5 separate regions of the Homo sapiens genome follow, and regions 2, 3, 4 and 5 are each linked to region 1. The links are contacts of gene promoters, found by promoter capture Hi-C in blood cells and fetal thymus (Javierre and others, 2016). All regions are on one chromosome and are shown on one strand. The core of a region is centred on a gene start or on the middle of the fragment in contact, and the rest is flanking DNA. Distances in the headings are between cores, read along the strand shown. Region 1 holds the start of PCNP (PEST proteolytic signal containing nuclear protein). Region 2 holds the start of CMSS1 (cms1 ribosomal small subunit homolog). Region 3 holds the start of NIT2 (nitrilase family member 2). Region 4 holds the start of LNP1 (leukemia NUP98 fusion partner 1). Region 5 holds the start of TMEM45A (transmembrane protein 45A).

Region 1 (5,240 bases), core at 639-3,138:
TTAACTATGATTCCTATGCACAATTTCATTAAAAATATCTGACATTCAAAAATGGCTTAAACTTAACAGCACTACTTTCTTGTAACGGCAAGGAGACAAATTATGTAGAAGTTAAGGGATATTTACTTACTCTAAGTTACCAAGAAAAAGACCATAATAATTTTTCTGATACCAATTAGCAAAGTAATTCTCTACTACTTCTCCCCACATGCTAAAATGGAAACATCAATATTCATACTATAGAACTAATAACCCTCAACTGAAAGAATGGCAGGTAAATTATACAGTGGATTTATAATGACACTCAAGGTACATTTTGACAGCACATTAAACACGTCTGCTACCCTCGGTCAAGACAGTTAACGAGATGGCCTTAAAATCAACACATGATTCTTTAGGCTTTTCCTCAAACTACGTCTAAAATTTTTTGCTTTTCCTCAAACTACTTTTAAACTTTTATGTAATTTTATCCCACAATTTCCAATACAATTTTTTTGGGAAAAAAAATTCCCTAGTGAGAAAGTAGTAGATGGTTTAAATTTAAATTGTTCTTTCATAAGGTATTTTACTAGTTATAAAAAAAAAAAAAGACAGGGGGTGGGGAGGGAAGAGAGAGATGGAGTTCCAGCTTAACTAACAGAATTGTACGTGTTTTTTAAAAAGGAAATCCTGGGTCCAAAGTAATTAACATTACACTTAATCTTTTCAATAATTTTTGTTCCCAAGGCAATTAACATGAAACATTATGTTAGTAGGTCTACTAGTGGCCTTCATATGCTATTAATCGTTTCTATTTTCTCATATTAAATAATTTCGGGAATGATAACTAAGGTGGTCAGAATAGAGAATAATGTTTAAAATGTTCTAAAAACATTTTAAACAGCTCGCACGTGTTAAGTCACTTGTCTTGTTATGTGCAAAGAGGGAGCTGGAGAGATTACGTTTCTTTTCCTTCACGCACAAGACCCGAATTTAGGGAGTGGAATGGACAGAATAAGGATAGCTGTAACCTGAGTTTAACGTCGTAACAAAATACAGGAAGAGTCACGCTAGACTATTTAGTCGCCTAAGTATCTGGCAAGCGGTCAGCTGGCAACAGCCTAAGGGAGATACTTCAAAGAAAAGCAACCAAACCTTAGCCCTAGACCCCGCAGCTTAAACCAGAGGGCAGGCAAAGGCATTCCTCTTCCCCTCCATCACCTCGGCCCATCCTGTCACAGGGTCAATATTAAACTTGGAAGTAAAGGAAAGAGAGCAGGCCGGAGTTGTCCACCTCCTCAGTGAAAAGGGAGCAGCAAGCGTAATTAACTCCTGCGTGTAACTGAGAGGCCGGCACCGTCAGAAACTCAGCCTGCGGCCAGTTCCCGCGGCAACTACTCGGTGGCTCGCACTGTGTGTATGTTATGTCTCATGAGCGTCTCCGGTGTGTGTGTTTTGTGTGATGTGCGTCTCCGGTGTGGCGGTAGCGGCTCCTGCACCGCCGCTCCTGGTCCCACCCCGAGTTCGGTCTCCCTTTCTGGCGCCCATCTCCCTTCTCCTCGGAATCAGGGCCTCCGCTGGGGCCAGGAGGTGACGAACAGTGGCCGGCTCTCCCCAGGCAAGGAGGCGATGTAGGCCCGGAGCCCAGAGGGCCGCATCGGGCGTGCCCGAGGCAGGTCTGGGCCCAACACCTGGCCGGGTGAGGTCCAGATCCGCCCATTCTCGCCCCACCCCACTCCCCCCACCCTGGGAGCTCAAAGAAAGGCCCGGAGCATCCCACGCTGCCCACGACGCTGGGGTTGTGTTCACCTCCGGCGGCTCCAGCTCGCTGCGACTTTTCAGGCTTCTCGTCTCCCGCCTTCCCGTCCGCCATTTTCCCCGCCGCGGCCTCCCCTGCAGCCACGCCAAGGACGTCACGACCCCGCCCAACAACCATCGAGTTTTTGGGGCCAGCCGGCGTGGTGGCAGCCTAGAGCGGTCCCGAGGAATGAAAAGAGGCCGCCTTCGGAAGCGGAAGTGGATGTGATGTCATCGAGTAGCCGCCTCGGAAGGAAGAGCTGGGAAGGTTGGGCGGTCTAAGAGTGCTGGCTAGGCACTTTATTAGAGGGCAGTCAGGTCTTCATGGTCTAGCGACAGGTCCGGAGAAGTGAGGGGAAATGGAGCATCTCCCTGGAAACGCTGGGATCTTAGAAGGTTTCTGCATACCCAGATGTGGTTGCAGCTGAGGCTGAGAGTGTCTTCCGTTCCGGCCTTGCTGGATAACGCATGCCTGCCAACTCTATGTAAACAAAAAGCCTGCATTCTTTTTCCCTAAAGGGGAAATCAGTGTTTATCTAGCGCCCCCTAGCTTCAGACGCCTTTCATACACTCGTTTAATCACGGCGATTGTCCAAATATAGAATTCTCCTCTCAATTACCTGTAAGAGTTGAGGTCAGAGAGAGTAATTTGTCTAAGTCACGTAGCCAACTGTAAAGTTACTTTTTGTATAGTCTGCTTCTACCAAGTTGAGAAACTACTATGTCAAGTTAAGACTGCAGTAATTTCTGCCTTAATAAGAAACCTTTAGTGGATTCCTACAGTCTGCATTCTGAAGTCCGTGAGTTACATTAGGCCCTAGCCTACCTTTTCGGCTTCATCTTCCCCCTTTCTCAGTATTTATCCAGCCCTCCTAGCCAAATGGGGTCTATTACTTGCTTAGGGAACTGGAGTTTCTGGGTTTGTCTTACCATATATAGTTAGAGAAAGTCTTAGGAGTCAGAACTTGGATTTGAATCTGTTTTGCCCTTTCCTGCTTGAGTAACCTTGAGACTTGCTTACTGCCTACAGAGCTACCTTTTCTTCTCTATAAAAGAGCAATAATAATAGTACCTCCTCAAAGAGTGGTAATAGGGATCAAATGAGATCATCTTTGTATACCATTATTTGGTCACTTCATACTTCCCTCAGTTTGTGTGTGTGTGTGTGTGTGTGTGTGTTTTAAGTGTTGTCTCTCTGAATGGCTCAAAAGTTCCTTGACAACAGAGACCAGTTTTTAAAAACTGTGTACTGTGCGTTTCATATATGAATATAAAAAGTGTTCAATATTTGCGGATGGATTACTTCTCGGGCTTCAAGTCCAGGGAGTGGAGAAAGAATGAAGAAATTATCAAAGTGTGTTTCCCATGACAGAAGCAGGGCAGTGTGGTGGTGATTTTGTGATCTAGGTTGAAGTCCCTGATCCATCATTTATCATATATGTAAAAGTAACCAGCAAACTATCTTACAGGTACTTAATTCATGTTTGTTTCATTTTCCTTGTGATCTTTTCAAGGTAATCATTGAGACTCTCGTTTCTATCATTTTAAAAATGGAGATATACACGAAGATTTTTATTTGAGATTATGTATTTACAGATGCTTGTAATTTTTTATGGGGGGTGGAATGGAGTCTCTCATTCTGTCACCCAGGCTGGAGTGCAATGGCATGGTCTTGGCTCACTGCAACCTCCGCCTCCTGGGTTCAAGCGATTCTCCTGCCTCAGCCTCTCGAGTAGCTGGGACAACAGGCGCGTGCCACCACACCCGGCTAATGTTTGTATTTTTAGTAGAGACGGGGTTTCACTATGTTGGCCAGGCTGGTCTCGAACTCCTGACTTTGTGATCCGCCCACCTTAGCCTCCCTAAGTGCTGGGATTACAGGCGTGAGCCACCGTGCCCGGCCGATGCTTGTAATTTTTAAGTGAAGAAGATAAAGCTCAGAGAAGTCACATACCTATTTAGGAGCGGATCCAGTTCCCATATACCACACTGCAGAAGTTAAGGATGCATGTGCAGGACTAGGTATGAAAGGAAAAAAACGAAACAAAAAAAGGATGAAGATAGTAATCCATTCACCTTTCAGTTCTGTGAGTTTCATGAGGTGTGCCTGTCTTGTTCACCACTGTTTCCCCAGCACCTGGATTATACTAGTCTGGATAAATATCTATTGAAGAAATTAATGCAAGCTTCAGTAACCTCCTACAAACGGGTTAGGAAATGGAAAGGTAGTGTAGTATGAAGGGGTGGAAAGGGGGTGATCACTTTCCTCCCCATCAAAAGAGTCATGACAACATGCTTGTTAATAAAAGACAGGTTAACAAGAGAAAATTAATGTGCATAAGCATGGGAATGATACAACAAAATAAGAAAACTAAAAAAAGGGTCAGATGGTTGAAGTTTAATACTTTTCATAGGGGAGAGAGAGGTGGGGGGGCTACAGGCAATTTTAGAGGAGTAGTAAATGATTTTAGGAGAGATTAATGCAGAAATTCACTTGTAAATTATTCTCTTTGTAAACCAAGTGAAACTAGAGAACCAATAATAATTCGAAGGCCAGTCGTGGTGACTCACTCCCATAATCCCAGCTACTAGGGAGGCTGAGATAGAAGGATCACTTGAGCCCCGGAGGCAAGGTTGCAGTGAGCCAAGATCTCGCCACTGCACTCCAACCTGGGTGACAGAGTGAGACCCTGTCTCAAAAACAAAAAACAGTAGTTTGAGGCAAAGTTTGGGCTCTAAGTGTGGTGGTTAATTTTCAGTCTCTTCCTCTATGATGTGAGTTTTGTTTTTTTATGAGACCAGGTCGCACTGTGTTGCCCAGGCTGGAGTGTGGTGGCTATTCACAGGCATGATGATAGCACACTACAGCCTCAAACTCCTGGCCTCAAGAATCCTCCCATCTGAGACTCACAGGTAGCTGGGACTACATGTGTGCACCACTGTATCTGGCTTTGTGATATGTTTTAATTTCTTCTGGTTAATGAAATTTCAGGGAGGAAGCAGATAGAAAGCAATTGTGTTCTTTGATGTGTGTGGTTTCTAGGTAGATAAGAAACTTCAAAGAACAGTCTTATCCCGTGTTTTGGGGGAGGCAGAGGATTGAGAGGCAGGAGGTGGGGTGGGGAGATCAGAGAAACCTTGCGGCTGCTTCTCTAGTTCAGCATGTCAAAGCACCAAATTTTGGGGTACCGTTTTCTGACAATGAATAGGCAATGTAGTCCAAGGCAAAGAGCATTAGTTTTGCACCACACAAAAACTCGACTTAAATTCTAATTCTGCATTTTGCTAATTCTGTGAGTTTGTACTGGATAACAATGTTATGGAATATGTTATAACTATACAAATGGAATAATACATATAGGGTTACTGAGGGCATTGGGATAATAAAGGTTAAATCTATAATATGCTGCCTGGCCATGGTGAGAGCTTGCTTCATAGTAGCTATGGATTATAACCTCTAGTGA
Region 2 (5,240 bases), core at 1,273-3,772, 1.8 Mb after region 1:
CTCTACTAAAAATACAAAAATTAGCTGGGGGTGGTGGCAGGCTCCTGTAATCCCAACTACTCGGGAGGCTGAGGCAGGAGAATCGCTTGAACCCAGGAGGTGGAGGTTGCAGTGAACTGAGATCGCACCACTGTACTCCAGACTGGGGGACAAGAGTGAGACTTCGTCTCAAAAAAAAAAAAAGGGTTAGTCTTATGGCTAGAAGGAATGTAAGAAGTAGAGCAATCTTAGGCACTCCAACACACTGTCTTCATGAGAATTCTGGCAACTTAGATGAAGGAGGCTGTAGCGATTTAAAGTTTTACTAGATTCAGTGTTTAAAACTGTTGGGGGCCAGGCACGGTGGCTCACGCCTGTAATCCCAGCACTTTGGGAGGCCGAGGTGGGCAGATCACGAGGTCAAGAGATCAAGACCAGCCTGGCCAACATGGTGAAACCCCGTCTCTACTAAAAATACAAAAATTAGCTGGGTGTGGTGGCGGGCACCTGTAATCCCAGTTACTTGGGAGGCTGAGGCAGGAGAATCGCTTGAACCCAGGAGGCAGAGGTTGCAGTGAGCCGAGATCGTGCCACTGCACTCCAGCCTGGGCGACAGAGGGAGACTCCGTGTCAAAAAAAAAAAAAAAGAAAAAAAAAACTGTTGGTTGGTAAAACCCTAAAAAAGATGATCTTTAAGGGCTCTTTACAGATTATGATACAAAGGCCCAGAGAAGTCACAAAGTAGTAGCGGGAAAAGCGTGACTTTCAAAATCAATCACACTTGACTAAACTCTTCCCAGACCTCTTCTTCAATGTGTGTTCCTAAGAACACGACTTAACTTTTTTCTGTTTCTTCACCTATACAAATGAAGAGAATACTTACCTTTTCGGGATGTTATGAAAGTTAAATCAATTCATATTTATGAAGACATTTGTCACATAATAGATACTCAATACATGTTGACTGCCTTTCTTCCAACGGATGAATAACTTGAAAGTCACACAGCTAGTGAGGACTAGAACCAAGAATTGGGATCCCCTTCACCACTCAAACAGAATTCAACTATTTCTTAAATGGCCTCTGTTCATCTTCAATCATATCATAAAATAGAGCTTTTTAACACCTGAGTTGGGAGGGGTAGTTATTAAAGTAAATGTGGAACACCACAGGGCTGCAAAAGAGTCAGGAAGTTTAATCAAGGAAATGTTGTATTGGCTACCTTTCTAAAAATGACATCTGCTTAGTTTGTACCTGAAGGCTTGACCTTCCGGAAACAATGCAACAAATGAAGTTGGTTATTTTTAATGGATATTTCACAACTAGTATTTCAAGATTGTTTGCAGCAAATAGGTATCAAGTGTCTAACATGTGCAGGGCCCTGTGGATGACAGAAGTATGAATCTGACTTTGGCCCTGTCTTCTCTTGTAGAGAAAAGAGGCAGACCTTGAGGAGTGATAAAAACCAACCAACCAATAATTGCATGGTAGGTGTGATGGAACTTAAAAAGTTCAAGGCTAGCCTGACATGGGGGGTCACTTAACGCTACTCTACTTGGGGATGAAATGCCCACTGCATCAGGAGTTGGTAAACACAGCAGAGCATAGTAGAAACTATTCAAATTGTGTTAACTGAATTCTAGTATTGTTTCTGAAAGGAGCTAGCTTTGTGAACTTGTCAAGTTACTTGACATCTTTAGGTTATGTTTCTCATCTGTAAAATAAGTGAGTTCAAAGGATGATCTCTATTTAAGCCTCCTTCCAGTTCTACTATTCCAAATTCCATGATAATGATGATGACCACAAGAAATACAGTAACTTATATTTACCACACATTATATGTCAAGCACTATGCTAAAGTGCATTACTGTACTAACTTCACTTAATCTTCACAACTTTACGAAATGGACATTATTGTTATCATTATTTTACAGATGAGGAAAAGGAGGCTAAACAGTATCAGAATACTGGAGTCGTGATTTGAATGGAGGGAGTCTGAAGCAGCAACCCCTGCTTCTGACCTCAGTCTGAATTGAAAGCAGTTCATGGGTCACCCTTAACCATCATACAAAGTTGCCTCTCTTCACAAAAACTGTCTTATCCATTCTCAAGAAATAAGGAAAAGAGAAAGCTTGTGGAAAGGATCCTTCCTGGCTGGCAGACAGATCTGAGTTAATGTCACAGCTGTCTGTTTCACGTGTTAAAGAATCTCTTGCACCATTTTCCCCGAGATGCTTGCGCGCTCCCAAGGCGGTGCACACCCCTGCTGGGCAAACACCGCGATCGCCAGAAGCGACCAGGGCTGAGGCGCACGGAAGGGCTCCGGGAGAGGCCCCGTAGGAGCGCGGGCACAGAGTGGGTACCTGGGCTGCTGCCTGCTCCAGTCGGCTGGTTCTCCCACCACTCGTCTCCGAGATCGTCTGCCATTTCAGCTCAGGTCTCGACGTGGGCAGAACATCACGGGTAGGCGACCAGCTGCGGAGAATCACGTTGTCTCAAAGCCAGGCGGCCGGCGTAGCTACACGCGGAGCTCCCGCTAGACACTGTCGCCTCCGCCCCGCGGCGATGACGTCACACCTCTGCCCCGCCTCTCCGGCAGCCGCTCCCAGACTCGTCGCAGTTTCCACACAGGCGCCGACAGGCAGAAGCAGTTTGGAAACGCAACATAAATCCCCCCAAAGCTTAAAGACAAAAAGGAACATAAGACGAAAGGGATTGTCATCGTTTTTGATAATGCATTTTAAAAAATTTTGTTTACGTGTTACGTTTCCCGATAAGATTGTGTCGAAAGTGTGAGACACCATGTGAAGACGATTTTTCTCCGCTCAGTTTCAAAGAACTTGCGCAGCGGGAGAAGACCCAAACATGTGCGTGTGTTTTCGCTTGTGCGTCAGTGTTTCAGAGTTTATGTGTTTGTACAGTTTGCTCTTAGAAAACATGCGCAAGGATCCATGACCATGAATGTCGGGCCTTTGTGGTAAATGTAGTTCTGCTATTTATGCAATATGAGTAAAGAAAATGTAATTGGCCTGGAAAGGCTCGCCCACAGAAAGACGCAAGTGGCTCGAAGACCCGCAAGTTGTTTTCCTCATACTCCCTCGGTTGTGTGTCCCACCCCCTATTTGGGAAACGAAGTAATAAGGGAGTCCATTGCTTCGTAACTATAGGTAAGAGACCCGCAGTGCCTCTTGTCTCAGTCCCAACGTGATTTGGCAGGGAGGGACTAGGAAAACCCGCTGGGCGCCAAGTGCTGGGGCTAGCTGTGAAGTAATTGTGGACGGTATTTTTCAGGACATCAAACACAGACGTAAAAATTATACAAAATGTAGTAAAAGCACGCAACGTGCCTGGTACTATGCATGGAATAGTAAGATGAGTCCATTCAGATGTTAGCCTACAGTAGTGGAAATTCAATTTGTAGGAATAAAGGGCTAGACTTCTAATAGGATACATCCTCGGAAATGACAAGACAGGGAAACTTAATCTGATGAGGCTAGGATTAGCCATATGTGGAAAATTACCCCGTGTGCACCCAACTCATAGATGTTTTATAAATGCATTACTGCCTAGACTTTGTCCGCACACTCTAAATGCCCCAAAAGGGAAGATATTATGTATAAATATGGCAAATGTAAAATAATCTATAAAGATCAAAAGTAATATGGCTTTTGTGAAGAAATGTAGATGACGAGATTTTCGTGATTAATAGATTTTTGAAAAAGATAAGAAATGCCAGTGTGGAAGAGGAGTTGCTATGGCTAATAAACATGAAAAGAATTCAGTCTGATTATTAATCTGGGAAATACAAAAAAAACACCACAGCGAGACCGTTTTTCAGGCAATAAATCACAAAATTAAGAAGTATGGGCCGGGCGCGGTGGCTCAAGCCTGTAATCCCAACGCTTTGGGAGGCCGAGGTGGGTGAATCACCTGAGGTCAAGAATTCCAGACCAGCCTGGCCAAAATGGCGAAACCCATCTCTACTAAAAATACAAAAATTAGCCGGGCATGGTGGCAGGCGCCTGTAATTCCAGCTACTTGAGAGTCTGAGGTAGGCGAATTGCTTAAACCCGGGAAGTGGAGGTTGCGGTGAGCCGAGATGGTGCCATTACACTCCAGCCTGGTTGACAAAAGCGAAACTCGGTCTCAAAAAAAAAAAAAAAAAAAAAAAAAAGAAGTCTGGCAATACTAAATTATGGAGTGTCTATGCATTAATGGGAATTGATACCTGTTTTGTACCATGAACTATGAATGGTCTTACATTATATTCCACCTCGCCTCAGCCTCCCGAGTAGCTGGGACTACAGGCACATGCCACCATTCTTGGTTATTTTGTTGTTGTTTTTGTTTTTTGTAGATATGGCGTCTCATTTTGCTGCCCAGGCTGGTCTTTAACACCTGGCTTCAAGCAGTCCTCCCACTCCAGCCTGCCAAAGTGTTGGTATTAGAGGCCTAAGCCACTGTGTCCAGCCATTTTTTACATTTTTAAAGCATTGTAAGAAACAGAACAAAACAACAACGACAACAACAAAAACGTAAAGAAAAATATGCAGCAGAGACTGTAGCCCTCATATATTTACTATTTATTACTATTCCCTCATATATTTGCTCTAACTTTACAGAAAAAAGTTTACTGACCCCAGATTATATTGAATAGCCAACCTAAGTTGTAGCATCCATTTCTGTTCTGTTTGTTCTGTTATTAGTGAATTGGTTATTAGTGAATAGGCATCCTGGTTTATAAATCAGTGTATTGTAAAACCGTACTCTCCAGTATCTGATCATATCATCTAACACAGGGAAGCTCAGGCTGAAATAACTATTAGGTCTTTTTCTGCTCCCTCTTACTGTTCAGTATCTGAATGAGTATTATTAGAGTTTAAAGGAGGAAGCATTCATTTCCCAATGGGGCGAACTGGGAGGTAGCACTTGACAATGGATGTCTGTCGGCAAAAATGGATAGGGTAAATGATAGTTCCTTGGCAGAAAGATTGCAATGTTGCTTTGAATAAGTTATTAAACTTTGCTGGGCATTTCTTTGTGAGTCTGTAAAATAAAGGGGAGCAATTTCATGATTCCTGTGGTCTCTTCCAACTCCATGCCTTAATCTTGAGTATCAGACCAAGAATTCTGGATTTTTGTCGTTGTTATTAGAGGCAAAGGACATGATGGAAGTATTGTTTTAGGAAAGCTAAATTGGTATTACTGTGCAGGATGAATAATGGATTTGAGCAGAGCTTCCCACCTGGCATGGGTGGGCTGA
Region 3 (5,240 bases), core at 1-2,500, 1.2 Mb after region 1:
GGCAAACAGATATTTTGAGCTGTTATCAGAACAGCAGATAAATCCACTAAACGTCTCCCCTCCATTTCCCAGCGTTAAGCCATTCTCCCTCCTCAGCTTCCCAAGTAGTTTGGGACTAAAGGGGCGTGCCACCACACCGGGCTAATTTTGTATTTTTTAGTACAGACAAGGTGTCGCCATGTTGCCCAGGCTGGTCTCCAACTCTTGACTCGTGAACTCAAGCGATCCTCGTGCCTCAGCTTCCCAAACTGTTGGGATTACAGGCGTGAGCCACGTGCCGGGCCATGTCTGTGCTTCCGAGGGTGGGAAAGATAAAGCTCACCATGGCTACGCTGATGGCTTCCTCTCCTACACATCTCACCCACAAGGGCGGGGTCCTCAACTAAGCTTAGGACTGCCTATCATTCTGCAAATGACCCACTCTACAGACATGCTGCAGCAGGGAAACCCCGCCACTGGGCAGTTCCTCATGCTGAGGAGGAGACGCCCGTCACTCCATCTCATCTGTAAAGTGAAGACTTTTAAGGCTGCCCTAATATTCATCATAATCTAACAACGAAGACCTTACCAAGGGGCGGAAAAAAAGAATAAAATACTGTGAGCGAAGGAAACAACAAAGGAATAACATTTAAAGCAATGTGCCAGGTCCTTCACACATTAACATCATTGTGTGAGGTATCATTAACATCATTTTACAAATAAAGAAACAGGGGACTTGCAGGGGGAAAGCTGCACAAAGTCACTGAACAAAGTAAGTGACACAGCAAGAATCCAAGTCAAAATCTGGAGCTGGAAAGTGAGTGGGGAGACGAAGAACCGCCTGGGCACCTTTGTGCAGGGCGGGGCTGGAGGAGGTCACGCAACTTGAAAACACCCAAGGGAGTTGGATCCTACCACCGCGGCCCACACCGTGGAGAAATACACGTCCATCAGCCTCTGTCAAGCAGGACGCGGCGGGTGCCGGCGCGGCCGGGTGGCCTGGTGCTTTCTGGGCCTCGCCCGCCACCCCGGAAGCCTGGAATCCCGGGAGTGCGCCCGGCCGCCCGGCCACGCGATCCCGGACCCACGCGGACGCCCGCCTCAGGGAAGGCCGCGCACGGCGGGGACGCGGGGCGGAGGGGCTGAGCCGGCCGAGCCACCGCCGGCGCCGCTCCAAAGCCTCCCCCGCGGCCCGAACTCGAGCTGCAGCGCGCGGCCGCGCCACTTACAGGTCATGACTCTGCAGACAAGCACCACCTGCGGCGCGGACTGAGCGCTGGAGATCCGGCGGACCGCGGCGTCGCTACGGTGGGGCGGGGACCGCGTCAGAGGCCCCGCCCCACCCCTCCTCCTGGCCCCGGCCGGGAGGAGAGAAGGGTCTGCGTTCATTCCAGTGCGCCTGTAACACCAGGACGGACCAACGAGAAATGGTTAATTGCAACACAGTCCGGAAAAAGCATGCCTCGAAAGGCAAAGGGCAAAAGGGAACGGCCTAAGTCGAGGTGGTGTGCTGGTGAATGTCTTAACAACCAGACTTTTCAGGGAGGAAAGCCCTGATTTGTAGCGTTTGCTGATTCTCCGCAAAAGGACTGAACTTCTAGCTGGTTGAATCACCTCTGTGGCCAGGTTAACACCGTATGCTGATGGGCTTGAGCTATTTGAACAAGTCTCTGTGACGGGGACGGAATGACCCTGGTTGGTTTAGGCACGCGAGACGTCTGTAAAATCTGACTACAAGGCTGCTAGGCCAACGGGAAAGATGCTGAGGGTTCAACGCCATGCCCTCAACAAGTCAGTCCTCGAATACATTGTCATCTCTTTGCTAATATCCTTTTTTGTTTGTTTGTTTTAGACAGGGTCTCACTCTGTCATCCAGTCAGGAGTGCAGTGCAGCAGTCTCAGCCCATTGCAGCCTCAACCTCCCGGCTCAAGCGATCCTCCGTCCTCAGCCTCCCAAGTAGCTGGGACTACAGGCACACACCACCACACCTAGCTATTTCTTTTCCTTTTTTCTTTTTCTTTCTTTCTTTCTTTTTTTTTTTTTTTTAAGTTTTTTACTTTTAATAGAGGTGGGGCCTTGCTATTTTGCCCAGGCTGGTCTCAAACTCCTGAGCTCAAGACCCTACTGCCTTAGCCTCCCAAAGTGCTGGAATTATAGGCGTGAGCTGCTGCGCCCAGCCTATAGACTATGATTTTTGCATTTTTATTTATTAGATTGCTTTTTAATTTTCGTGTTTTGTGTTTTTGTGCCTTGTCAGACTTGTGGAACAAAAATCCAAAACTTAACCACCTTTTGGAATGCCCCAGAATAGTTTATACTGAAACAGATCTTGGTTTGTAAAAGAACACTATAAAAACATTTTGGGGGCAACTAGGGAGATTTAAATATGAACGAGATATTTGATGCTTTTCTGAATTATTTTGTGTGCTATAGTGTTGTGCTTGTGACAATTCTTTACTCTTAGAAAATGAGGAAGTATTAGGGATGAACCATCAGAATGTTTGACTTGAAAATCGTCAGCAAAAAGAAAACACATAAGATAAAGCAAATATGGCAAAATGTTAATTATTAAATCTAGGAGGAGGACACAGCTGTTCATGGTACTAGATTAAAACTTTGTAGAAGTTTAAAATTTTAAGCTTTCATAAAAAAAAATTGGGGGGAAATACATAGCAGTTATGGTCTTTCTGCAGCTTAAGAGACTATCTGGACTTGGCTTTGTAGCAGGAAGATCTTTAAAAACCTTTTCATTTCTGCTATGCTTATTAACCTATGAGGTTTCAGGGTCAACCTGTGGTCACTTACAACCTGTTAAAAAAATTCATCTAGATTTCCAAATTTATTGGACTAACATTGTAACTAATAGTGGTCCTAAACCTGGCTGGAAATGTTATTTGAAGTGCTTGTTCAAAATGCAAATTATTTCATTTTTTTAGAAGTGGATTCTTACAGTGTTGCCCAGGCTGGTCTCAAACTCCTAGGCTCAAGTGATCCTCCCACTTTGGCTTCAAAAAGTGCTGGCCTTATAGGCATGAGCCATGGCATCCAGGTGGAGATGCCCAGTAGGCAACCGGACCAAAGCCTCAAGCTCAGAAGATGTCTGGGCTGGAAATTGACTTGGGAGTCACCAGCAGTTTTAACTAAGAGGAAGCTCTGAATTTGGATGAGAACACACAAGCGGAGTATGAAAGGCACACGCAAAAGAAGAAGGGCCTGTGGAGCCTGGGAAGGAGCCATTAGAGGAGAAGGACCAGGCCGGGCGCCACTGCCTGGTGGAGGAACAGCTGTGTCCTCCTCCTAGATTTAATAATTAACATAATCCCAGCACTTCAGGAGGTGGAGGCAGGTGGATCAAGAGGTCAGGAGCTCGAGACCAGCCTGACCAGCATGGTGAAACCCCGTCTCTACTAAAAATGCAAAAATTAGCTGGGCGTGGTGGCACACACCTGTAATCCCAGCTACTCAGGAGGCTGAGACAGCAGAATCACTTGAACCTGGGAGGCGAATGTTGCGGTGAGCCGAGATTGTGCCACTGCACACCAGCCTGGGTGACAGAGCCAGACTCCATTAAAAAAAAAAAGAGAGAGAGAGAAGCAGGACCAGGAGAAGGCCATCAAGACCAAAAGCCTATGGGTACTGTGTCCCTCTGTCACATGCAGGGAAACTGCTGACTTGGGCACTAGGGGTGTTCCTAGAAAAGGAAAAGCTAAATGAAAGTGCGCTTTTTAAACCTTTCTTTAGAACTTTCTGGGCACAATGGAAAAGCTAGTCACTGGGTTCTGGTTCTGGCTCTGACACTGATTAGATGTTAATACCTAGGGCAAATCACCTCACCCTCAGGACCTTTTCCTCACCTGTATGTGAAAGGATTTAGAGGCAAAGGAAGAAGAATCTGGCTGAAGGGTGAAGTTTGTGCAGCCCTCCCCACCACCACTCCCCTCACTGTCCCTTCTCTGCAGCAGCTCTGCCTTCGTTTCCATGTTCCTGTTCATCTGACGTATGAAAATAGGCCAAAAAACAAAACTACCAGGCCAAATGGATCTTGAAAGCCCAGCTAAAAATCTGGTGTGCCTTTTCAGTCTCTATTCTCATTTCTACCCATGTCTCACAGGCTTAATGACCATTTCCAGGCTGTTACTAGTCAGATTTTTATTTTTACTCCAGAGGACCTATTTCAACATCTCCGGCTGCCGCCATCTCTATTTACATGTCTCAACATCAGTTCCAACTCAACTATGTGAAACTAAATGTATCACCTCCAAAAGAGCTTCTCCACCCAGCACTTACAGGCACCACAATTTATGCCCAGTTTTCTAATTCTCCCTGCTTTCCAGCCCTCCAAGAAAACCTAAGTCACTTCAGTGACTTTCGAGTCTTTCATTCCCCACCTCTGGTAAGGGACAGGGCTCTTCTTACTCTCAGGAAATGTCCCTGATTCCTCCTTTCAGTTCCCACCACCACCGTCCACAGGTAGGCCTTCCTCACCTTGGGGAGACTGCTACAGGCACTTCCTAACTGGTCTCTCCTTTCCATCAGCATTCCTCCAGCTGCCGCTTCATAGTATGAGGTGAGTCTAGGGGAACGTGAGCTCAGTTTTTGGGGGAGAGGTGGATATGTGTTCCAGGAAAACTCTCCGTGTTTTTCCTCTGCTCTTACATCACCACCACAACAATCATCATCACAGAAGAATTCTGGGACCAAATGTGAGGGGGTTCCTCCCTACCACCAAGCAGCGGACACCAGCTGGGTATCCTCCTATTCAATTCCAACACTGTCTACCTGAGGAAGACACACCGGCACCAGTCATATGTCTTGGACTCCAGAACTTCTGACCAACCACTTTCAAGTTGGGGTTGCCATGATCCCATCTTTGGGTTTGAATAACTTGCTGGAGCAGCTCACAGAACTCATGGAAACATGTTTCCTGGTTTATTATAAAGGATGTTGCAAAGGCTACAAGGAAGAGATGTGTAGGGCAAAGTATGGGAGGAGGGGCACAAAGCTTCCATGCCCTCCAGAACCTCCACGAACGTGGTCAGCTATCTAGAAGCTCTCCAAACCCAGTTCTATTGGCCTTTATGGGAACTTTATGTTATCAGCATTCCTTCCTCCAAGGGATGGGGCAGGAGCTCTCAGGAGGTATTTAAGACCCACAATCAGCAAGATTAGAGTTCTGCCTTGGGGCAGGTGAAAGGAGAGCAGGAGAGGCCAGAGAGATTCTGTTTCCTGAGGCCTGCCCCTGAGGCCTAACACAACTGGC
Region 4 (5,240 bases), core at 1,600-4,099, 1.2 Mb after region 1:
CATCATAAATATAAATCATTTCCAGCATCATAGAAAGCTGTGATGGACAGCACTGATCTAGAGTTTGGTCAGAGCGTAGAAGAACCAGAAGACTCTATTCTCCTGAAGCCAAGGAAAAGAACATTTCAAGGAGAGAATAATCAGTGGTATCAAGTAAAAGTGGGTGACAGCCAACCTCCCCCACCCACAAAAAAACCACAATGAATTTTATGACTTCTAAAGCACTTTCAGCCTAATTATAAAGTTGTAAACTAGATTACAACAGATTTTGGATGAAATGGGTGCCAAATAAGTAACAGATGTAGACAATTCTTTTCAGTAATTTTTCAGTAAGGAAAAACAGAATGAAAACATCAGACAGCTGAAAGAGAATAGAGCTGTTCTATATGTACATGCTTAATATAAGCAGATTTGTGCACTGGCTGGAAGGTTTGGACACCAGTCAACCAGCTATTTACCAACTCTAGCAATCTGAAAGGCCTTTCATGTAGCAATGACAATTGAAGGGACAGAATTACATCATTTTAAAACAATAAGGAGCCTTAAAAATAATCTAATCCACCCCTCCTCACATTATAAAGAAAGCAGAGTTGCCCATGGTCACACACACAACTCAGTGGTATTAAAATTTAGAATAAGAATTCAGGTCAGCTGGGCATGGTGGCTTATGCCTGTATTCCCAGCACTTTGGGAGGCCGAGGCAGGTAGATCACCTGAGGTCAGGAGTTCAAGACCAGCTTGGCCAATATACAAAAAATTAGCCTGGCATGGTAGCAGCCGCCTATAATCCCAGCTACTGGGACGCTGAGGGAGGAGAATTGCTTGAAGCCTGCAGGCAGAGGCTGCAGTGAGCCAAGATGGCGCCATTGCACTCCAGCCTGGGCAACAAGAGCGAAACTCCATCTCAAAAAAAAAAAAAACTCAGGTCTTCCACAACCTAGTCCATTAGACTATCTCATTTAACTGCCTCCTAAGATACAGATCAAAGGTGAAGAAAGCTTCTTCAGTTGAGTTCCACTAATCTACCAAGAAAAAGATAATGTCTATGTTCACATATACAGAACTTTAATTTTTTAGAAATGAAAGGCAGTATTTTACTTCTTTACTTTAAAATTTAGAAAAACTGAGAACTAATCATCAAATATCTATTGCTTTGTAACAAACATCAAAAGAACTTTAAATATTCTCTAATTAAATCTTTACTATAGCCTGAGAGGTAGATGTTTTCACCATTTCACAGATTAGAAAAACATGCATCAGATCAGTAAGGTCCCAAAGCCAGTAAGCGACACTCTATTTGGCTCTACAGTACCATCAATTAGGAAATGGAGGAGAAAATGAGAGAATAGCATAGGCTAGAGAATGGAAATGAGATGTTTATCAAAGTATAAAAGTAACCAGAACAGATTCGTTTACTAATGCCAACCTTAAAAATAAAGCCAAACAAAATCAGGCCTTTAGATAAATATTAATCCAAAAAATGTTTCAAGAAAATAACACCGATTCCCTTTGGAGAGGGGAACTGTGCAGCTGAGGACAGGGACTGAAGGAAGACTTTTCACAGTAAACTCTGTAACTTTTGGAGTTTAACCGTAACAGTGTATTGCTTACTCCAATAAATAAGAAAAAGGTTTAAAAAAAAAACTTCAAATATGTTTTAGTTCCTATCAAGTTTGTAATTGTTAGCACTCTACAATCCTCCAAGAGGCCACAGCAAAACTGAAATTTCAGAAAAAAAAAAAAATCCTAACTTGTGTTCTGAAAAAGGCAAGGCAGAGCTTATATTAAGGGGCAGAAAATTTGCCTTTGGGGATTGGGGGATCAGGAGGGGAGAAAAGCCTATTGCCTGCAACGATCAACTCAATTCCACTGCTATTTTTAGCCCATTTTTTTAGTCTGTTGCTAAGAAACCCTATTGCCTGAAGGCAATTTACTAATAGGAACTTACATGAAGCAGGAGAAACCGGTGATCCTGAAATTCTTTCCAATTAGGCCATTCTATTTTAATCAGTCCATTCTGGTGCCACTTGATAAAATATCTCCTTTCAATCTTTATGTAGCTCTACTGTGATGTTGTTGCACTTAACAGCAAAACAATCATTTATGAAATCTTAATGTAAGGCTTCTGCAAACCAGTATACCAGAAATGGAGAACCATAGTTCTGGACTCTGATTTTTCTATTAATAGTTGTCTTCATGAAAATACCGTGTATTCCAAACAATACCTTGCAAGGTAATTTTATATTTTAAGAGATCTGGTGCAGAGCATCGGAAAAAGAGTTGATAAAGCTATTATAGATAAAAAGCTGTGAACTGAAATTACGATTTGGGAATGAGACGAGAAGAGGGCTGAGACTGCTACTGCAAAACAACCCGGGGGGCGTGCGGATCAGAGCGAGATGTGGGCTGACGCAGAAATCAGCTCAAGATACAAATACGCCAAGAAAGGCTCGAAGCCGGCGGGAACCCTGACGCTTCGCATTTCTACCAACTCAGTTTAAGAAACCCCTAACAACGCAGATGTCATCGCTTCGTTAATTGGTGCCGACGATGAGCCACAGCGACCACGCTCAAACCGTTTCGACTGCAGCCAACCTAGATGTGCCATTTCCACCTAGTCTTCTGCCATCGCTATCTCCCCTATAACCTCAAATTCGTCCAAACTAAAATCTCGCTATGTTAGTGATAAGAAGTTCAGTGATGCAGCAGCCTTCTTCAGCGGTGAGCTCTTTCCTCACACATCTTTAAAAGTCCTTCTAATCCGTTGGTTTCTCGGGCACGCGGGCAGAAAACCGTGCTAACGGCCACAGAGGTTCAAGAGGTGCCAACGTGGCTATAACTGGAAAACTGGATCCGAAATCGACCAGTAAACTGGGTAGCTCGGTCTACGCCCCGCCCACCACCCTTGCTAGCCAATAGCCTTCACAACTCTTCTGCCACTCCCGCCCATTCCAGTGCTGTGCCGCTGCTTTTTCTTCCACTCGGATCTCTTGAGCGCCCTTAGCCCGCTGTATACGCGCCCCTCCTCGGCTTCAGTAGGCAAGAGGGCCATCTGCCCTTCTTTCCTGAAGGTAGAGGGGACAACACCAGCTACGACGGGGACTCCAGAAGTCCATCTCCCGAACAGCAGCGGGGCGAAAAGAAAGAAAAAGGGTTTCCGAAGACTCCTACTCACACCCACGCTTTCCCTTAACCCGGAAGTGATTTCCGCCCCTCCTCTCCCTCTTCGGTTGATACTGGAGGAGAAGGACGGCCAGGTCTGGCCCGGCATGCCCTGGGCTTCCGGTGACCTCTGGCCCTTTTCTGTCGTCCGCTCTCTCTGCCTAGCGTGCTCGCTCGCTCATTGCTTTCCTTCCCTCCCTCGGTCTTCCTTCGCACGCTGTTTGGTGATTGTGGCGCTCGCGACAGACAGGGAGGCGGTGGCAGAGGACACTTGTCATGGCCGCCTCTAAACCTGTGGAGGCAGCGGTGGTCGCAGCCGCTGTACCGAGCTCCGGGAGTGGGGTGGGCGGCGGCGGGACTGCGGGCCCGGGCACGGGGGGGCTGCCGCGATGGCAGCTGGCTCTGGCGGTCGGGGCACCCCTGCTGCTGGGCGCGGGTGCCATATACCTGTGGAGTCGGCAGCAACGGCGCCGGGAGGCCAGAGGCCGGGGCGACGCCAGCGGCCTGAAGCGCAACAGCGAACGGAAGACCCCGGAGGGCAGGGCCAGTCCGGCCCCGGGCAGCGGACACCCTGAAGGTCCCGGTGCTCACTTGGACATGGTGAGAAGCAGCCCCAGGCCGTAGAGGAGGAAACTGGCTCGTGCAGCTTTTCCTTGGCGGGTTGTGTCAGTGAGGGGGCTTCCCATCAGACGGAAGCTGCCAAGCGGCAGCACAACACTTGGGTTTAGGGAGACTCATTTCTGGCTGCCAGTGGAGGGCATAGAGTAGCTCGATGACAGGTTACTGGCATTCTTTGACAGTTTGCTTTTGGTTTCAGAAAAATCCTTTGCTTTTCTTCTCAGTGACACAGCATTTATCCCTAGTGTTGTAGATGGGAGTGGGGCATTTGCAAATGTGATGATTGTATTTAATAAGTGAAGGAAGCTAAATTCGATTAACAATTGGTACATCGTGATACGAACTGTTTCTGTGATTTCCAAAGCCTACAACCTAATCGCTAAGAGCCTTTTAATAATGAGCCACTCCCCCTTTTGGAGTGTGTTTTTGCTGGGGGTAAGTGGGCAACTACAGTGACGGTTAGTTGACAAAAGCAAAACAAAAACAAAAACGATTAGATGGCTTTCTACATAGAAAAAGAAAGACTACACAGGTTCTAAAGAGTGAAATGGTGTTCAGTGGCATTTGTTTTACAGCCTCTGAACTGTAAGCAGAACTGTCAAGCTCCCAAGGCTCGTCCTCTCTCAGCAACCCCGAAGCCCCCTTGGCTGCAAGCACTCAGCGCCCGTAACCTCTCCTGCCATGCCCCAGCCCCAAGGTGTCCTTTTGCACTCCGGACCCCTTGGCCTTTGTCAGAAAACGCTCTGCACTGCACTGTCCCCTCTTGCTGCACAAGAGTAGCGGCCACAGCAATGCTCACCAGGCTTGGTTGCACACAGCCCCCTGCCCCAGGTCCAGGCCTACACACACATACAAAAAAAAAAAAAAAAAAAATGGGAGTGACTTCTTAAACTTTTTGATTGGAAGCATCTTAAATTCAGTTTTTCCATTTCACCTGGAAATGTACATGACCAAGCCTAATATGCATGATACAGTTTCTCTGATGTGAGGCCAAGCATTGGATTATTTAGTGAACTGCTTTGTATGGTTTTGGTGAACTGACTGTTAAATCCTTTTGGTATCTGACAGCTGTGCAGAGAATTAGTCTGGCTGCATTTGACAATACTGGGATTGGGTGTGGTGGATTTTCTCTGGGTCTGGAGTTGTTCAATGGTAGTACCAGAGTAAGTCGAGGTCAGAGAAACGTTTGGTCAAATATCTCCCAGTTTTATACATAAGTATATACAGTTGGTCAAGTAACTTCTAATTGTATCCAAGTGTATACACTTAAATATGTATGCAAGTCATTTCCATATTATACTATTCAGGTTGAATTTTTTTTTTTTTTTTGAGATGGAGTCTCACTTTGTTGCCCAGGCTGGAGTGCAGTGGTGCGATCTCAGCTCACCACCACCTCCGCCTCCTGGGTTCAAGCAGTTCTGCCTCAGCCTCCGGAATAGCTGGGACTACAGGCGCGCGCC
Region 5 (5,240 bases), core at 7-2,506, 1.1 Mb after region 1:
CTGTAATCCCAGCTACTTGGGAGGCTGAGTCAGGAGAATCACTTGAACCCGGGAGGCAGAGGTTCCAGTAAGCCGAGATCGTGCCATTGCACTCCAGCCTTGGCGACAAGAGTGAGACTCTGTCTCAAAAACAAACAAACAAACTACAACAACAACAAAATATATAGCGTATATAGAGTATACTATATAGCATACATAGAGCATATACACCATATAGCATAGTGTATACATAGCATGTATATAGTATATATACCATACTATATAGTGCATATATACTATATAGTATATATATACAATTATAAGTTTATGAACACACAAGTGGTCTGTCACATGTTTGTTTGTTTTTAACAATTATAAAGGAATTCAGGTCTCCCACTATGGATAGGAGAATACCGAAAAGATATATATTTGGCTTGCAACTACCTCCAGATTTAAGTGAAAAATCCAGCAACTACCTGCATAACCCAGGTTTTACGTAATTTATATTAGACATCCTATTAACAGAAGCAAACGTGTTAATTCTGAAAAGATCAGATAATTTTCTCAATCTCCCATCAAAACAGTCCCAGAGTTGGGGATAAAAAACGATTTTGGCTTTACAAATACCCACAGTATTTTCACAGAAAGAAAATAGAGAAATAAATTTATCAATAGATTCAATTTTGGAGTTAGAGGTTTACAACAGAATATCAGTCACATTGCTGCTCCCAGGATATTTAAAACTAGCTCACCAAAAAAAAAAAAAAAAAAAAAAGAATAGCAAACCAAAAAAATTAAATTAAAATGTTAGTGAAACGGAAGAGAAGGGAGCGAAGGGTCCAGTTTGTCGCAGCAAGTGTTACTTTTCTCCCCTTGATGAAGAGAAAGCTGGTGAGAACAGTAAAAAGACACAGGATAGAGATCACGGCAAGAGAAATATGATATCCAGCACGTATCCAAAACTTACCCAACTTGGTCTGTTTACTCAACACTTTATTTTTCCCACTTTGCCAGCTTAAAATCAGACAGCGGCTGGGCTTTTGTTGTTGCTGTTTCTGTTCTTTTGATCCCAGAGCCCCATGAAAATTAAACCGTGTGTTGGATGGGATCTGGCCACGTCTCGCATTGGGTGGGGGGAGGAATTTTTAAACTTGGGTCCCTAGTCGCTTCTTTGGGAAAACGAATAAATAATAAGTGGCGAGAAGGAGAGGACGTGGGGGACGTGCTCGGCTGACGTCGGCCCGCGAGGAGGCCGCACAGCTGTCCAGATGTGCTTCATCTGTTCCCCCCGCGGGGCACGGGCCTCGGCGGCCGCGGCTGGCACAAGCCCCAGCTCATTGGTGGCCGCAGCTCTTCACTTGCTGCCGATTGGCCGGGCGGCCCGCCACTCCGGAGGGCCTCGGGCCCGCCCCTCTCTCAGGCCCGCTGGCTGCATCCTAAGGGAATGTGGAAGTGCAGCGCCGTCGCTGATGTGGCACTCGGCGGCTGCGCGGCCGGGACGGCTCGGGGCAGAGAGGGAGGTTGCCTACTCCCAGGTCTTGCCCCTGCCCCGGCCCTGTTATGCCCCTCCTTTTAGACAGACCGCTTTGTTTAAACAGGATGATTTGTAGCCGTTTGGAGGCTGAAAATAAGGCGGATGATTTGTAGCCGTTTGGGGGCTGAAAATAAGACGCGCCTGGTGCTTGGAGTGGAAGAGGCTGGGGCTCCGGGCTGCCCACGCCCCCAAAGGGCGTTCAGGCCACGCCTTGGGATTCCTCTCTCTTCACTTTCTCCAGGGAGCAAATAATAGGGCCCAAGAGCCTGCTCCCTGGGGACGGTATTCTTTCTTTCGGTGGAGGGAAAACCTTAATGAACCCTTCGTTGAAGTCCTTATTAACCAGAATTGAAGTTGTTCCTGCGGAGATGACCAGGACTGGGTATGAGAGTGGTTTGGCAGACCTGCTTGGTTTTTTGTATTGAGTGATGGTCGTTGTAGGGAACCGAGAAATACTGCTTTGTTGTGTGAGAATTGAGAAAGGACTGCGCCAAACGTTGCTTTGAACTTGGGAAAGCAGTTGGAGGGTTAACCAGTTTTTTGATTAGTGAGTTAGAAGGAGAGGAGGAAAGAAGAGATCTGCAAATCAATTGCCATTATAATTTGTGCATATTGACAGAACCGTTCCCTCATTGAAATATTAAGTGGGCAAGAGCCACACTCACTGGGCTGCACGCCAGGGAAGGCACCAGACCCCGCATTAAACAGTTTTTACCTGCATTATCACATTTAATTCTTACAACTACCTTATAAAATAGATATTAAAATAATCTCCAAGACCCAGCACCTATCCCAGCCTACCACAGATGTCTCCAAACATATGTTTGCAGCACTCCATCATAGATACATAAACTCATCTGCAATTTGCCATCCCTGCAGGGGTCAGAATTTATTATGAGTGTCCAAAGCTTTCACTACAATGATAATGTCTTGTTTGTTGGTGTATTTGTCATCTATTGCTGCGCAACAGATTCCCACAAACTTAGTGCTTTGTACAACACATGTATATCACTGCACAGTTTCTGAAGGTTGGAAGTCCAGGCATGGCCAAACTAGATCCTCTGCTTATGCTCTCACAAGGGTGCAATCAAGGTGTCAGCCGGGCTGCATTGTCATCTGCAGGCTCTACTGGAGAAGAATCATTTCCAAGCTTTCTCAGGTCATTGACAGAATTCATTTCTTTGCAGCTCTAGGACTGACTCCCCAGTTTCTTTCTAGATGTGAGCTAGAGGCTGCCCTTAGCTCCGAAAGACTGCTCTTAGGCTCCCAATGGCCATCCACGGTTCTGAAAAGCCAGAGAATAGAGATCACAGGGGCCACCTACAAGTCTGTCTGCCACAATTGGATAGTCAGACACCTCAATTTCAATGGACCTGACTGCAATGTTATCATAACTCTGTAAGACCCCCACAAATGCAGGAGCCTGCTCAGCAAGTAAAGTGGCACTACATGAGTGCAACCACAACACTCCAATCCTTCTGGCAGTCAAGGAAACCCACAAAGGAGCAACATTTGAATGTAGCCCTTGAAAGTAATGTGTCATGTGTTCAGCTTTCTGAATCATTTGTAATCTCACAATGCTGCACTTTTTATCACAGAAGCCGCTCAACAGTGGGCTGATAGTCAAGGTATTGATTAACCCTCCACACTCATTACCATCAACAGGCATCTGATATTGACCAAAAATCACTAAAAAAAAAAAAAAAAAAAAAAAAAAAGAATCCTTCTGCTCTCAGGAAGATGGAGTGGACATCAGTATTCCATTTCTCCTGCTAAGCACAACAAAAAATCCTGGACTTCATATATTTTCCAACATTGGAAACTCCAAGAGGTTGAGAGAAGAAGACAGATGAGCTAGAAATCTCAGAACCCAAGGAATGACATGATGCTGAGTTCCCTGGGCTTGCTTTCTGTTGTTTCTTTGCCCCAAACTTGGAGCTGAAGAAGCCAGCAACCCAAAAATGACAACAGGCACAGACAAAAAAGTCTCAACGAACCCTGCTCTCTCTAGTCAAGGACCAGGAAATGGGAAGCCTAGAAAGACAGAAAAACTTTTAGGCAGTAATGGCTCTACTTCAGCCAAACACCACAGGAAAAACCCTGGCCCCACTCACTCCTACATGAACAGAGGCTGAGTAGAAATCCTAGACTCCCGCCTTTTCCAGGCTGTAACAAGGTGAAGATGCAGAAATCTTTAACAACGTATTACCAAACAGAATTCAGCAATATATAAAAATAATTATACACCACAACATAGTGGAGTTTTTTTCAGGGATGCAAAATCAAAATTCTAAAGTCAATCAACCCAGGCGTGGTGCCTCATGCCTGTAATCCCAGCACTTTGGGAGACCAAGTCCAGCGAATCCTTTGAGCCCAGAAGTTTGAGACCAGCCTGGGCAACAGGACACAACCCCATCTCTACACAAAATATGAAAATTAGCCCAGCATGGTGTCACACACCTGTAGTCTCAGGTACAGGTGGGACTGAGGTGGGAGGATCACCTGAGCCTGGGGGGTTGAGACTGCAGTTGCCACTGCACTCTAGATGGGGCAACAGAGTGAAACTCTGTCTCAAAAAAAAAAAAAAAAACAAATGTCGATCAATGCAATTCCTGATATGAACAAGCTAAAGAAAAGAAAAATCGCATGAATATATCAATCAATGTAGAACAAGCACTTGACAAAATTCAGCACCATAAAAACGCTCAGAAAAAGAAGAATAGAAGGGAATTTCCACACTTGATAAAGAACACCTACCAAAGTACCTACAGCTGACCTTATACTGAATGTGAAAGACTGGATGCTTTCCATACATACTTTGTAATTCTATTTGTGCAACATCCTTCAAGTTACAAAATTATACAAATAAAGAGCAGATAAGTGGTTGCCAGGTATTAAGGAGATGGTGGAGTAGGAGGCAAGTAGGCTTGGCTATGAAAGAACAACATGAGGGATCTTTGTGGTGATGGAAATTTTTATTAATAGCTTGACTGTATCCATGGGATATTGTTGAGATATTGAGATAATGTAATTCTGCAGAATGTTACCATTGGGGGAAACTGGGTGATGAGTACACAGGCTTTCTCTGTATTATTTCTTACAACTTGCATGTGCATCTACAATTAGCTCGAAAGAAAAAGTTTAAAAAAATACTTCTGACTCTATCTCCCTCACCTCCTCCTGACCACCACAATTTAGTTTGGTCACTGGATGTAACTCTCTCCAGAAAGGGATCATCTTGCTCAGCTGCTTCCTGGGTCATGTTCCAGATGAAAGAAGCAGAGAGTTAGGAAAATTTGGGATCCTGACCTGACCATTCTTGGGCATGATGTTTCATTCTTTCTCTTAATGGTAACACTAGGCCAGCTGGGTTGGTGTGACCTTCAGAGTTAGGCTGGACAAAAGGCTAGGGGATTCAAACTTAATTCTGGTTCAGCCACCTGCAATCTCTTGTTGGACAGACCTTGTCCTAGATCATAAAGGTAATGAACACTTAAGAGTTGAGTTGAGTACACTGCTCACCGAGTCCTCCTATAGTATCCTGTGTGGGCCCAAGGAGTGGACATAAGGGATCTCTATAAACTTATCAAAATGTACTATCCTTCCTGCACCTGGCCCTCTGGACAAAAGGGCTTGGTGTGAATAGGGGACGACTGGGGTGAAAGGAAAGCAACAAGCCTGGCACATGAGGAAGATACACATTAGACCCTGTGATATACAGAGGAAA

The links. Contacts are between HindIII fragments. The CHiCAGO score rates a contact against its expected background, and 5 or more counts as called.
Region 2: a contact is called between the fragment with the promoter of CMSS1 here and the fragment with the promoter of PCNP in region 1, in 2 of 17 cell types (fetal thymus and total B cells). The highest score is 13.8, in fetal thymus.
Region 3: a contact is called between the fragment with the promoter of NIT2 here and the fragment with the promoter of PCNP in region 1, in 7 of 17 cell types (fetal thymus, total B cells, total CD8 T cells and 4 more). The highest score is 9.8, in fetal thymus.
Region 4: the fragment with the promoter of LNP1 here is called in contact with the fragment with the promoter of PCNP in region 1 in 14 of 17 cell types (total B cells, total CD4 T cells, fetal thymus and 11 more); the score reaches 15.3 in total B cells.
Region 5: the fragment with the promoter of TMEM45A here is called in contact with the fragment with the promoter of PCNP in region 1 in 1 of 17 cell types (monocytes); the score reaches 5.0 in monocytes.

Annotation. Positions count from the first base shown.
Region 1 is chr3:101,570,828-101,576,067 of GRCh38, reverse strand. PCNP (PEST proteolytic signal containing nuclear protein) reads right to left here and starts at 1,888. Exons shown (of 5, transcript NM_020357.3): 1 at 1,789-1,888. The coding sequence starts at 1,852. RefSeq lists enhancers at 1,369-1,528, 1,549-1,708, 1,789-1,918, 2,019-2,288, 1,732-2,677. The HindIII fragment of the contact is 5,212 bases long and covers 1-3,964 here.
Region 2 is chr3:99,815,144-99,820,383 of GRCh38, reverse strand. It overlaps CMSS1 (cms1 ribosomal small subunit homolog), which reads right to left and starts at 2,522. Exons shown (of 10, transcript NM_032359.4): 1 at 2,341-2,522. The coding sequence starts at 2,404. HP09053 (a long non-coding RNA gene) reads left to right here. Exons shown (of 3, transcript NR_110821.1): 2 at 1,410-1,464; 3 at 1,912-3,752. It overlaps LOC105374010 (a long non-coding RNA gene), which reads right to left and starts at 2,522. Exons shown (of 5, transcript NR_189163.1): 1 at 2,341-2,522. RefSeq lists enhancers at 2,256-2,565, 1,797-2,671 and a silencer at 2,087-2,841. The HindIII fragment of the contact is 550 bases long and covers 2,111-2,660 here.
Region 3 is chr3:100,330,767-100,336,006 of GRCh38, reverse strand. NIT2 (nitrilase family member 2) reads right to left here and starts at 1,250. Exons shown (of 10, transcript NM_020202.5): 1 at 1,209-1,250. The coding sequence starts at 1,215. RefSeq lists silencers at 228-522, 921-1,250 and enhancers at 491-570, 691-750, 771-820, 914-1,482. The HindIII fragment of the contact is 2,232 bases long and covers 390-2,621 here.
Region 4 is chr3:100,399,148-100,404,387 of GRCh38, reverse strand. It overlaps LNP1 (leukemia NUP98 fusion partner 1), which reads right to left and starts at 2,849. Exons shown (of 4, transcript NM_001085451.2): 1 at 1,949-2,849. TOMM70 (translocase of outer mitochondrial membrane 70) reads left to right here and starts at 3,299. Exons shown (of 12, transcript NM_014820.5): 1 at 3,299-3,762. The coding sequence starts at 3,439. RefSeq lists silencers at 2,831-2,910, 3,521-3,600 and enhancers at 2,971-3,060, 3,071-3,120, 3,171-3,280, 3,962-4,881. The HindIII fragment of the contact is 4,606 bases long and covers 1,001-5,240 here.
Region 5 is chr3:100,488,635-100,493,874 of GRCh38, reverse strand. It overlaps TMEM45A (transmembrane protein 45A), which reads right to left and starts at 1,256. Exons shown (of 6, transcript NM_018004.3): 1 at 947-1,256. RefSeq lists a silencer at 1,239-1,538. The HindIII fragment of the contact is 5,818 bases long and covers 1-2,423 here.